Regions from separate parts of the Homo sapiens genome. Here regions 2 and 3 are each linked to region 1. Evidence: promoter capture Hi-C in 16 types of primary human blood cells and fetal thymus (Javierre and others, 2016). All regions are on one chromosome and are shown on one strand. Each heading gives the region's core, a stretch centred on a gene start or on the middle of the fragment in contact. The rest is flanking DNA. Distances are from core to core; before and after follow the strand shown.

Region 1 (3,349 bases), core at 850-3,349:
CAGCTGTCACGTGTATCTTTCCAGCCACACCCTCCAAGGCTGGGGACACGCACTTGGAGGCCTCTTAGAATGGAGGACAGCAAACAGACAGCAGAGAATGCGCTGGGCAAAGGAAATTCTGTTATTTTGTTAAGCTATTATTATGATAAATAATCACAGGGCTCCAGGCGCAAGAGACTTTTTCATGTTGGTAGGAGATGTTATGGCTTTTGTTGCTGATATGATCTCAGTTAAACCTTACAACCACCCTGTGACGAAGACCAGTTTTATGAACGTCTTTAATGATGGGGAAACTGAGGCTGCAGTCAGTTTTCAGTCAGACTAGTCACAGAACAGGGACTGAGACACACGGATATGACTCTGTGTGACACCACACACTTCCAGGGGAGAACCCAGAACAAGGTGGAGCAAGCCCGACCCAATATACCACTAGAGAGAGCTGTGAGAGGGAGAGGAAGGAGAGAGGGACTGAACTAAAGGAGCACTATCAAAAAGTGGAGTGGAGACCCCAGTCCTAGCACCACCGTTTATTTCCTACAGACCCTAAAGCTCAGCCACGGACACATTCATTCATCCAACCCTGACTTGGCCACCACAAGAACGTTCCCAGCTTGAGGGCAGCTTCGCCAGCCAATTAGGGCCCTTGTCATTCGTAGAGATACAGGGAACCCGAGACAGAGGGACAGGGAAGGAAATTTAGCCAGGCAAGCCATCCTCCATCTCCAAGGAAGTTTGTAAATGATCACAGCTTCCTAACCCAACCGTGAGAATGCAATAAGCAAGCTGACGCAGAAGGGAGGACAAGGAGTCTCAGGAACCAGAGGAGACCACGGTGAGAGTGAGGGGAATGTCGCTCACATATCTCACTTCTGAGACAAGATATACCGCAACAAACCCATGCCAAGCTTCCTCCAGTTCTTCCCACTTTTGAATATCACATTTTTCTTGCTCTGCAAGAGTAGGGAATCCTTCCCATCAGTCTTGTGAATTCTGACCCCTTGCTGGCTTTCTACAACTCCCTGCCTGGGAGGCCGACACCAGGACATTGCTGTTGGGGGTGGGATCCCCATCCTCTGCCCCCCACTCCTACACTATAAGAGAATCAACTTTCCCCAAAAAGTGGAGGGTATCCCTGTCTCTCTTCTTGTCTCTGTAAAGGGGGTGAAGCTCTGGGTCGCCGCAGATGGATCTAAAGGGACAGTTCACGGAGTGGTAAAGGATATCCAAAAATTGGCCTTCTAGAGCACAGCAAAAAAGTGGGAGCGAGACGAGAGCAGAAGGCCACTGCTGGGATGGGGCCAGGGCCACACGTGAACATCCGAGCACGTTCCAGAGCTGAGATGCAAAACACCCAGAAAATCACATAGGAAGTGGAAAAGGTTCTGGGTCTCTCCCACTGGAAAAGCCCAGAAGAGCTAGTGGCCACCCCTTGGGGCAAGAGGGGGTTGTGCAATGACTGCGGGTCTGGGAGTCTCTGGGCTTGGCTCCTGGACGCCAGAAAGGGAACCCCACGCGTCAAGCCATGGTGGCAGCGCGGCGGTTGGTTCGAGGCCAGGCTGGGGTTTCAGGGCTGCAGACAGAGCTGCAGGATACGATGAGTGCCCAAGGGGGCGGCAGAGCATGGCATGGCTGGCACGGCGCGGAGCTGGGGGTGCTGTCTGGGCTGGCCGGGGTACAGGCCGGAGGGGTACAGTGCACAAAGCCGGGGTGCAGATAACGTACACGGCAGCCAGGAGCCTCCGATCAGAGGAGGGCCCGCTGACCTGCAGGGGTGTGCCGGGCGGTGCACGACAGGGGGCACTGTCCCTCCAGCTCCCTCCTCCCCAGGCTCTCACCTCGAACATAAGCCCGATGAGGACGCAGAGCACCAGGCAGAAGCCGATGTCCGCATGGTTGTGGATGACGAACTCCTGGCTGAAGAGCGGGTAACTTTTCGTCCTCCTGCGGAAAGCCATGGCAGCGGGCGCGCAGCGGCCGGCGGGGCCCGCACCCTGCGCTCACGAACCGCAGCGCAAACTTCTCCAGCACCGGCCCGGTCCGCCCGCCGGCCCGCCGCCCGCTCTCCCACAGCCGCTCGCCCGCCCAGCGCGGAACAACTTCGGGGCCCGCCCCCTTCCTCCGCCCGCCCCCGGCCGCCCGTAACCGCCCCCGGCCGCAGCCCCCGCCCAGCCCCCGCCCAGCCCGCGGCCCGCACTCGGCGCGCCTGGCCCCGCCCCCCGCGGGCTTAACCCTCTAGCCGCTGGGCACGCGCGGGCTACCGGGGCGGAGGCGTACGGGGGCGGCGAGCGGGGCTCGGCTCCTCCTCGTCCCGCGCCAGCGCCGCGCCCGGCCGCATTCTCGGGGCCCGAGGCTCAGCCGCTCGCGGTGGAGAAAGCAGGCCGCGGAGGAGGCGGGCGCCCAGGCCTGCCCGGACAGGAAGTGGGCCCAGCTTTCCCACTCCTCGCTCCGCTCCTTCCTCCGCGGGAAGGGCAGGCCCCGGAGGCAGCGAGCGCCCCGGGGGTGGCCGGGCAGCCGGATGCTCCCGGGGTTGCGGGCTGTGGCCCCGGGGGCTGAGGGCGGCGCGGGTGCGGCGGAAGCAGGGAAGCCGCGAACCGGCCTTCTGGCTGGCCACAGCGCCCTGCACGGACGATCAGTGAATGGAGATTACTCAAGTATTTATCGAGAACTTGCAGTGGGCTAGGCACAGTTCAGGTAGATCAACAAACCGAAAGACCCTGCCCTAGGGGAGCTTTCGCTCCAATGCGGGGAGAGGGTGGATGATTGCAGTTTTGCCCAGTAATTTTTGGGACCCTCATGCCACCATTAATTAGCTACACACATTTCACCGAAAGTCTACCTTACATATTAATCAGAAGAAGTGGAAGAATAAACACAGAAGAAGCAAAAAAGGAAGGAACTTTCTCACTGAAAGTTTCTATTTAATATTAAGTCTTAAAAGTACTCCTGGAAGGACAAAAGGTGTTCTTAATAAATTATATTCGCAAATATTGGATTTAATCCTACCAGTAATGAAGCAGTCAGTTACTTTCTAGATGTGCAGAAATACGTAATGAACAAAAAAAACTAATTCCTATTCCATTTTTTATTAGGTCCACAGTTATTTCACTTCTAAATAAATATGGTTTTTTAAAAGTGGCACGCGGTGGAATGTAATTGAGACAGGATGGAGTTCCTAGAGAAATTTTACTTCCTCAATCTGCACTCCACCTTACTTAAAATACAGTCTTGGGTCTGTAATTCCCTTATCTGACTCTCAAGGAAATGACAAAGTAATGCCTAGATTGGACTAAACCTCATTTAACTTCAAGGCTGACCTTTCTCAAAGTTGAACCTTCGTCTTGTGAGGAAC
Region 2 (3,349 bases), core at 624-3,123, 110 kb before region 1:
CAGGCAAACAAAACAGATTTTACTAACAGCAGACCTTTACTGGGAAACTTCTAGAGTATACTTCAAGTGGAAAGAAAATGAATGCAGAAGTAAAGTCTAAGATACAAAAAGTCGTGAATAAAGAAAATAGCAAAGTAGGATAAATCTAAATAATCATTAACTATACAAATTAAAAGAACAATATTGAATTTGTGAGAGTTAAAAATATCAAAGTAGAACTGACATGTATTACAGTAATAGCATAAGAAAGGGTGATAGGATTAAATATATAACAAGTTTTGAAAATTTTTTTTTAACTTTTAAGTTCAGGGGTACATGTGCAGGTTTGTTTTATGAGTGAGCTTGTGTCATGCAGGTTTGTTGTACATTTTGTCTCCCAGGTATTAAGCCTAACACCCATCAGTTATTTTTCCTGATCTTCTCCCTCCTCCCACCCTTCACCCTCCAATAGACCCCAGTGTGTATTGTTCCCTCCTATGTGTCCATGTGCTCTCATCATTTAGCTTCCACTTATAATTGAGAAACGTGGTACTTGATTTTCTGTTCCTGCATTAGTTTGCTAAAGATAATGGCCTTCAGCTGCATCCATGTTCCTGCACAGGATATGATCTCATTCTTTTTTATGGCTGCATAGTATTCCATGGTGTATATATACCACATTTTCTTTATTCAATCTGTCATTGATGGGCATTTAGGTTGATTCTATGTCTTTGCTATTATGAATAGTGCTGCAGTGATCATACACTTGCGTTTCTTTATGATAGGATGATTTATATTCCTTTGGAGATATACCCAGTAATGTGATTGCTGGGTCGAATGGGTAGTTCTGTTTTTAGGTCTTTGAGGAATCACCACACTGCTTTCCACGGTGTTTGAACTCATTTACCCTCCCATGAACAATATATAAAAGTGTTTTTAAAAACATACTTAAGATATAGGCAAATATCTTTAAAAAGAAAAATAAATAGCAAAAGAAACTGATGAGGTATAAAACAACTGATGAAGCTATATTAGTATAATACAAAAAGACATTTGGGCAAAAAGCTTTGATTGAGATGAAGAGGATCATTACCTATTGCAAGAATATTTTATTTACTAGGAAAATATAATAATTCTAAACTTGAATGCAGTAATAACATGGATTCAAAATATAAGAAAAATCTGTAGCACCATTATTCAGTGAGACTGGAAAAATATAGCATAATAGTGGGAGCCATTAAAACATTTCTTTCAATAGTTGTTAGATCAAAAAGACAAATCAATAAACAGGTATAAGACTTGAATAATATTATTATTCATTTAATATATATATGCTTACCCAACACCCAATTTTCAACAAAATTAAGTTAGAAGTCAATTTTGGAAATATAACATGAAAAAAACCGTGTATTTGGAAATTGAAAAACATATTTTCAGATAACCCATGAGTTAAAAAAAAATATTGTCAGAAAATACCTAGAACTGAATGGTAGCAAAAACTCTTAAAACTCTAAAAAAAAGAGGTACTTGGAGGAAAATATATAGCTTTAAATGCTTACTTAAGAAAGAAGAAAGATGACAATAAGTTAGGCATATTTCTTAAAAAGTTAGAAATCTAAAGAATTTAAAAATTAAAATATTAAGAAATTAAAAGAAGGAAATCATAAAATAAGAGGCTGAAAATAAAGAAATTGAAAACAAAGGTAACAGAGAAGATTTGTCAAGTCAAAAGTCATCTCCTTGAAAGGACTAATAAAGTGACAAACTATAGACAAGATTTATGAAGGGATAAACAAAAGAAGGCACATATACACCATATTAAAAATGAAAGAAGTGGCTGGGCATGGTGGCTCACACCTGTAATCCCAGCACTTTGGGAGGCCAAGGCAGGCGGATCACTTGAGGTCAGGAGTTCGAGACCAGCCTGGCTAATGTGGTGTGAAACTCCATTTCTACTAAAAATGCAAAAATTAGCCCAGCATGGTGGCACGCACCTGTAGTCCTAGCTACTTAGGAGGCTGAGGCAGGAGAATTGCTTGAACCTGGAAGGCAGAGGTTGCAGTGAGCCGAGATTGTGCCAGTGCACTCCAGGCTGGGCAACAGGGCAAGACTGTCTCAAAAAAAAAAAAAAAAGCATTCTTTAAAGTGCCATAGCCATTAAACATAAAATAAAATAATAATACAACTTTATGCCAATAAATTTAAAAACTTAGGTAAAATGAGTAAAGTTTTTTTTGTTTTGTTTTTGTTTGTTTTGTTTTGTTTGTTTTTGTCTTTGAGACGGAGTCTCTCTCTGTCGCCCAGGCTGGAGTGCAGTGGCCTGATCTCGGCTCACTGCAAGCTCCGCCTCCCGGGTTCACACCATTCTCCCGCCTCAGCCTCCCGAGTAGCTGGGACTACAGGTGCCCGCCACCACACCCAGCTAATTTTTTTTTTTTTTTTTGTATTTTTAGTAGAGACAGAGTTTCACCGTGTTAGCCAGCGTGGTTTTGATCCGCCCACCTCGGCCTCCCAAAGTGCTGAGATTATAGGCATGAGCCACTGTGCCCGGCCAAAACGAGCAAAGTTTTAAAAAAGTATAACTTGTTTATGAAGAAATAGAAAACCAAATATCTTCAGCCATTAAAGAAATAGATTTAGTTTAAACATTTCCCACAAAAAATCCAGCAGATCCAGATAATCTTACAGATGATTTTTGACAAACATTTAAAGAACAGGTAATTCTAAGCTTAACACAAACCCTTTTAGAGAGAAGAACTTCTTAATTCTTTCATTTAAAAAGGCCAGTGAAACCAAAGTCACCATGAGAAAGAAAAACTACAGTCATTCTCACTTAAGAAGATATGTGCAAAAATCCTAAACAAGATATCAGTAAACCTGATCCAGCATTATATGAAAAAATAATTTGTTGAGCAAACAAAGGCAGATGGCTGGACAGCACACACACATATACCAGATCTCCTGGAATATTGTATACTAAAGGAAGTTAATATAATCACAAGCTATGTCCCTCATTGCCCATCACTTCCTGGGGAAGCTCAAAGGGAGGTAGTAGGGTTGAGAATAGACATAGGGAGACAGATCCCTTGGACTATAGAGCTGTTATTAATAAGATGCATTATTAGGGAAATACCAGGCCCTCCTTTGCTATGATCAAGGGCTGGAGTTCAAACTTTTATGCCTGTTATAGCAGAAACTTAGCCTTATTCCAGTTTTTCAATCTCAGTAATTACTAGTTAGGAGAACATCAGCCTACTTTTCATCCCCCTTGTGATCAGGGTTCTGTGCCAAAGCTTTGTGGTTACAACTATAAGATGTGGCACTCTACTAGAACTGATTGACTCTTAAGATTTCCTTGGATGCCAGGCTG
Region 3 (3,349 bases), core at 493-2,992, 82 kb after region 1:
CCGTGGGGAGAGGGAGACCATGGGGAGGGGGAGAGGGAGACGGAGACCGTGGGGAGAGGGAGACCATGGGGAGAGGGAGAGGGAGAGGGAGAGGGAGAGGGAGAGGGAGACTGAGACAGAGTCTTGCTCTGTTGCCCAGGATGGAGTGCAGTGGCGCGATTTTGGCTCACTGTAACCTCTGCCCCACCCCGGTTCAAGCGATTCTCCTGCCTCAACCTCCCGAATAGCTGGGACTACAGGCTCAGGTATTTCTTTAAAGCAATGCAAGAACGGCCTAATGCAGACATAAAGAGACATTTCACCTAATAGTGGCAAATAAGCCCATGAAAATCTCATCGTTAGCCATTAGAGAAATGCAAATTAAAACCGCGATGAAGTCTCCTCATAGTGCAGCTGCCATTACCGCTGCCCTCTGCCCTCCGGCCTGTCAATCTACCTGCAGCATGAGCAGCCTGCACCTCTACAGCACATCGGTCACTGGCTCCCACAAAATCAAGTCCCAGCAGAGTGAGGTGACCTGAATCCTGGATAGGAAGCGCATCTAATACCAACTAGTGGACATCTCCCAGGACAACGCCCTGAGGGATGAGATGCGAGTCTTGGTGGGCAACTCCAAGGCTGCCCCACCCCGGATTGTCAATGGGGACCACTACCGTGGAGGCTTTGAGCTCTTCATGGAGGCTGTGGAACAAAACATGCTGCAGGAGTTCCTGAAACCGGCCTGAGTCAAGCTGGCCCACAGTTCCCCTGCTGGACTCCATCACCACACTCTACTTACAGCTCTCACCTGGCCAAGAAAGACCTTGTGACCAACTCCCTGTCATTCCTAACTTGACCTTAGAGTCCCTCTCCACAACACAAACCACTTCTCCCCCTTTCTAAATGTAGTCTCCTCTTCTCTATTCAAAGGCAACATTCCTTACCCACTAGTCTCAGAAATTGTCTTAAGCGACAGCTCCAAATGCTGGCATCTCTGTTGCTTCCATCGGCCAGAGCTTTGCCAAAGGCCCCACAATCCCTCTCCAGGAGGACCCTAAGGACAATTAAATGTGCTGTTCCATTGGAAAACACACACACACACACACACACACACACACAACAAAAGAGAAAACCATGATGCAATATCACTACACACCTAGCAGAAGGGCTAACGTATAAAATAGTGACACCACCAAATCTGGCAAGAATGTGGAGAAACTGGATCACTCATTCATTGCTAGTAGGAATATAAAATGGTACAGCTTACTCTGGAAAACAGTTTGGCAGTGTCTTAAAAAACTAAATATGTACGTGTTATATAATTCCACTCAGAGACATTTATCTCAGGGAAATAAAAATGTATCTTCACAAAAATGATCTGTATACAAATGTTTATAGCAGGTTTATTCTTAATAGCCCAAACCTGGAAACAATTCAGATGGTTAAACAAACTGTGGCATATCCATACCGTGGAATACTGGTTAGCAATAAAAAGGAATGAACTACTGATACGTGCAACGACCTGGATGAATCTCCAGAAAATTATGCTGAGTGAACAAAGCTAATCCCTAAAGGTTGCTCATGGTATGATTATATTTATATAACATTCTTGAAATGACAAAATTATAGAAATGGAGAACAGATGAGAGCTTACCAGAGGATAAAGAGAAAGTTGCAGTGGGTGGGGAAGTGGGTGTGGTTATAAAAGACCCACGGGAGGAAAGGATATTTGTGGTGATGAAAATGTTCTGTATCTTGACGGTATCAAAGTCAATGTCCTGTTTGTGATATTGTATTATTAGAATTTTGGAAGATATTAACATTGGGGGAAACACCATTGAGGGAAACTGTTTGTGTTATTTCTTACAACTGCATGTAATTCTGCAACTATCTCAATATAAAAAAATTAATTTTAAAAACACTCCCCAGCCGGGCATGGTGGCTCATGCCTGTAATCCCAGCACTTTGGGAGGCGGAGGCGGTGCGGGGAGGGGGGATCACCTGACGTCAGGAGTTTGAGACTAGCCTGGCCAACATAGTGAAACCCTGTCTCTACTAAAAATACAAAAATTAGCCCGATGTGTGGCAGGTACCCGTAATCCCAGCTACTCGGGAGGCTGAGGCAGGAGAACCGCTTGAATCCAGGAGAAGGAGGTTGCAGTGAGCCGAGATTGCGCCATTGCATTCCAGCCTAGGCGATAAGAGAAAATTGTCTCAAAACAACAACAAAACACTTCTCATACCTAGGTTGCAGCCCATAGCAATTAAATTACAATGTCGGGAGAAGGAGCCAGACATCAGTATTTTTAAAAGATGTCCAGGTGATCCAACAGGCAGCAAATTTGGGAACCACTGAATTAAGCATCTCAGAAGCCTCTGAGATGTTTAAGAAGAGAAGGAAACAAAAGTTTTCCTAAAGTTCTCTTTATAGAGATATCTTTGTAAAAAGGAACAACATAGACGCATCCTATTACATTTTGGCCACAGCCTCAGTCAGTATGAGGGAGAGGCCTTGGACATTTCTTATTCATCTGACTTCACTAATTGAAAACTTAAGCCTAAAAGCCAACATTACTAACTACTTTGCTACTGGAATAATTTACCAAAAATGTTTTATTTATTTATTTTTCGAGGTGGAGTCTCACTCTGTCGTTCAGGCTGGAGTGCAGTGGCGCAATCTCTGCTCACTGCAAGCTCTGCCTCCCAGGTTCAAGCAATTCTCCTGCCTCAGCCTCCCCAGTAGCTGGGATTACAGGTGCGTGCCACCACACCTGGCTAATTTTTTCTTTTTTTAATTTTTAGTAGAGATGGGGTTTCACCATGTTGGCCTCAATGCTGGTCTCAATCTCCTGACCTCAAATGATCCACCTGCCTCAGCCTCCCAAAGTGCTGGGATTACAGGCGTGAGCCACCGTGCCTGGCCCCAAAAATGTCTTAAAAAGCCATTTCATGAATAATGCAATTCCTTCCCCTTCATCTTCATCCCAATACAGTAGATTTATAGTTTCACTTTCTGCGGTTTTAGCCAATGGTTGTCCAAAAATATTAAATGGAAAAATTCCAGAAATAATTAATAAGTTTTAAATTGTGCACCATTCTGAGTAGCATGATAAAATCTCACACCAACTGCTCCAGCCCACTTGAGATGAAAATCATCCCTTTGTCCAGCATATCCATGCTGTCTATGCTACCTTTTGTTTAGTCACTTAGTAGCCCTCTTGGTTATCAGATCAAAAAAACATAGTAGACTGTAATACGGTTCAGTACTATTCAGTTTCAGGCATCCACCAGGGGTCCTGGAATGTACTCTCCATGGATAAGAGGGCTACTGTAATCTTTATGAAATGAACCCTGAGAGGAGAGCTATAAA

The links. Contacts are between HindIII fragments. The CHiCAGO score rates a contact against its expected background, and 5 or more counts as called.
Region 2: a fragment that was not itself captured here is called in contact with the fragment with the promoter of TRAM2 in region 1 in 1 of 17 cell types (megakaryocytes); the score reaches 6.3 in megakaryocytes.
Region 3: a contact is called between a fragment that was not itself captured here and the fragment with the promoter of TRAM2 in region 1, in 4 of 17 cell types (megakaryocytes, endothelial precursors, M2 macrophages and 1 more). The highest score is 12.1, in megakaryocytes.

What each region holds. Positions count from the first base shown.
Region 1 is chr6:52,574,961-52,578,309 of GRCh38, forward strand. TRAM2 (translocation associated membrane protein 2) reads right to left here and starts at 2,100. Exons shown (of 11, transcript NM_012288.4): 1 at 1,836-2,100. The coding sequence starts at 1,955. TRAM2-AS1 (TRAM2 antisense RNA 1) reads left to right here and starts at 2,242. Exons shown (of 3, transcript NR_103446.1): 1 at 2,242-3,349. RefSeq lists a silencer at 1,813-2,672. The HindIII fragment of the contact is 3,868 bases long and covers 904-3,349 here.
Region 2 is chr6:52,460,790-52,464,138 of GRCh38, forward strand. All of the region lies in intron 5 of EFHC1 (EF-hand domain containing 1), which reads left to right. Among named protein-coding and RNA genes, the nearest start is that of EFHC1, 42 kb to the left of the region's middle. The HindIII fragment of the contact is 1,663 bases long and covers 1,043-2,705 here.
Region 3 is chr6:52,656,930-52,660,278 of GRCh38, forward strand. It overlaps the pseudogene LOC724104. Among named protein-coding and RNA genes, the nearest start is that of TMEM14A, 13 kb to the right of the region's middle. The HindIII fragment of the contact is 7,617 bases long and covers 1-3,349 here.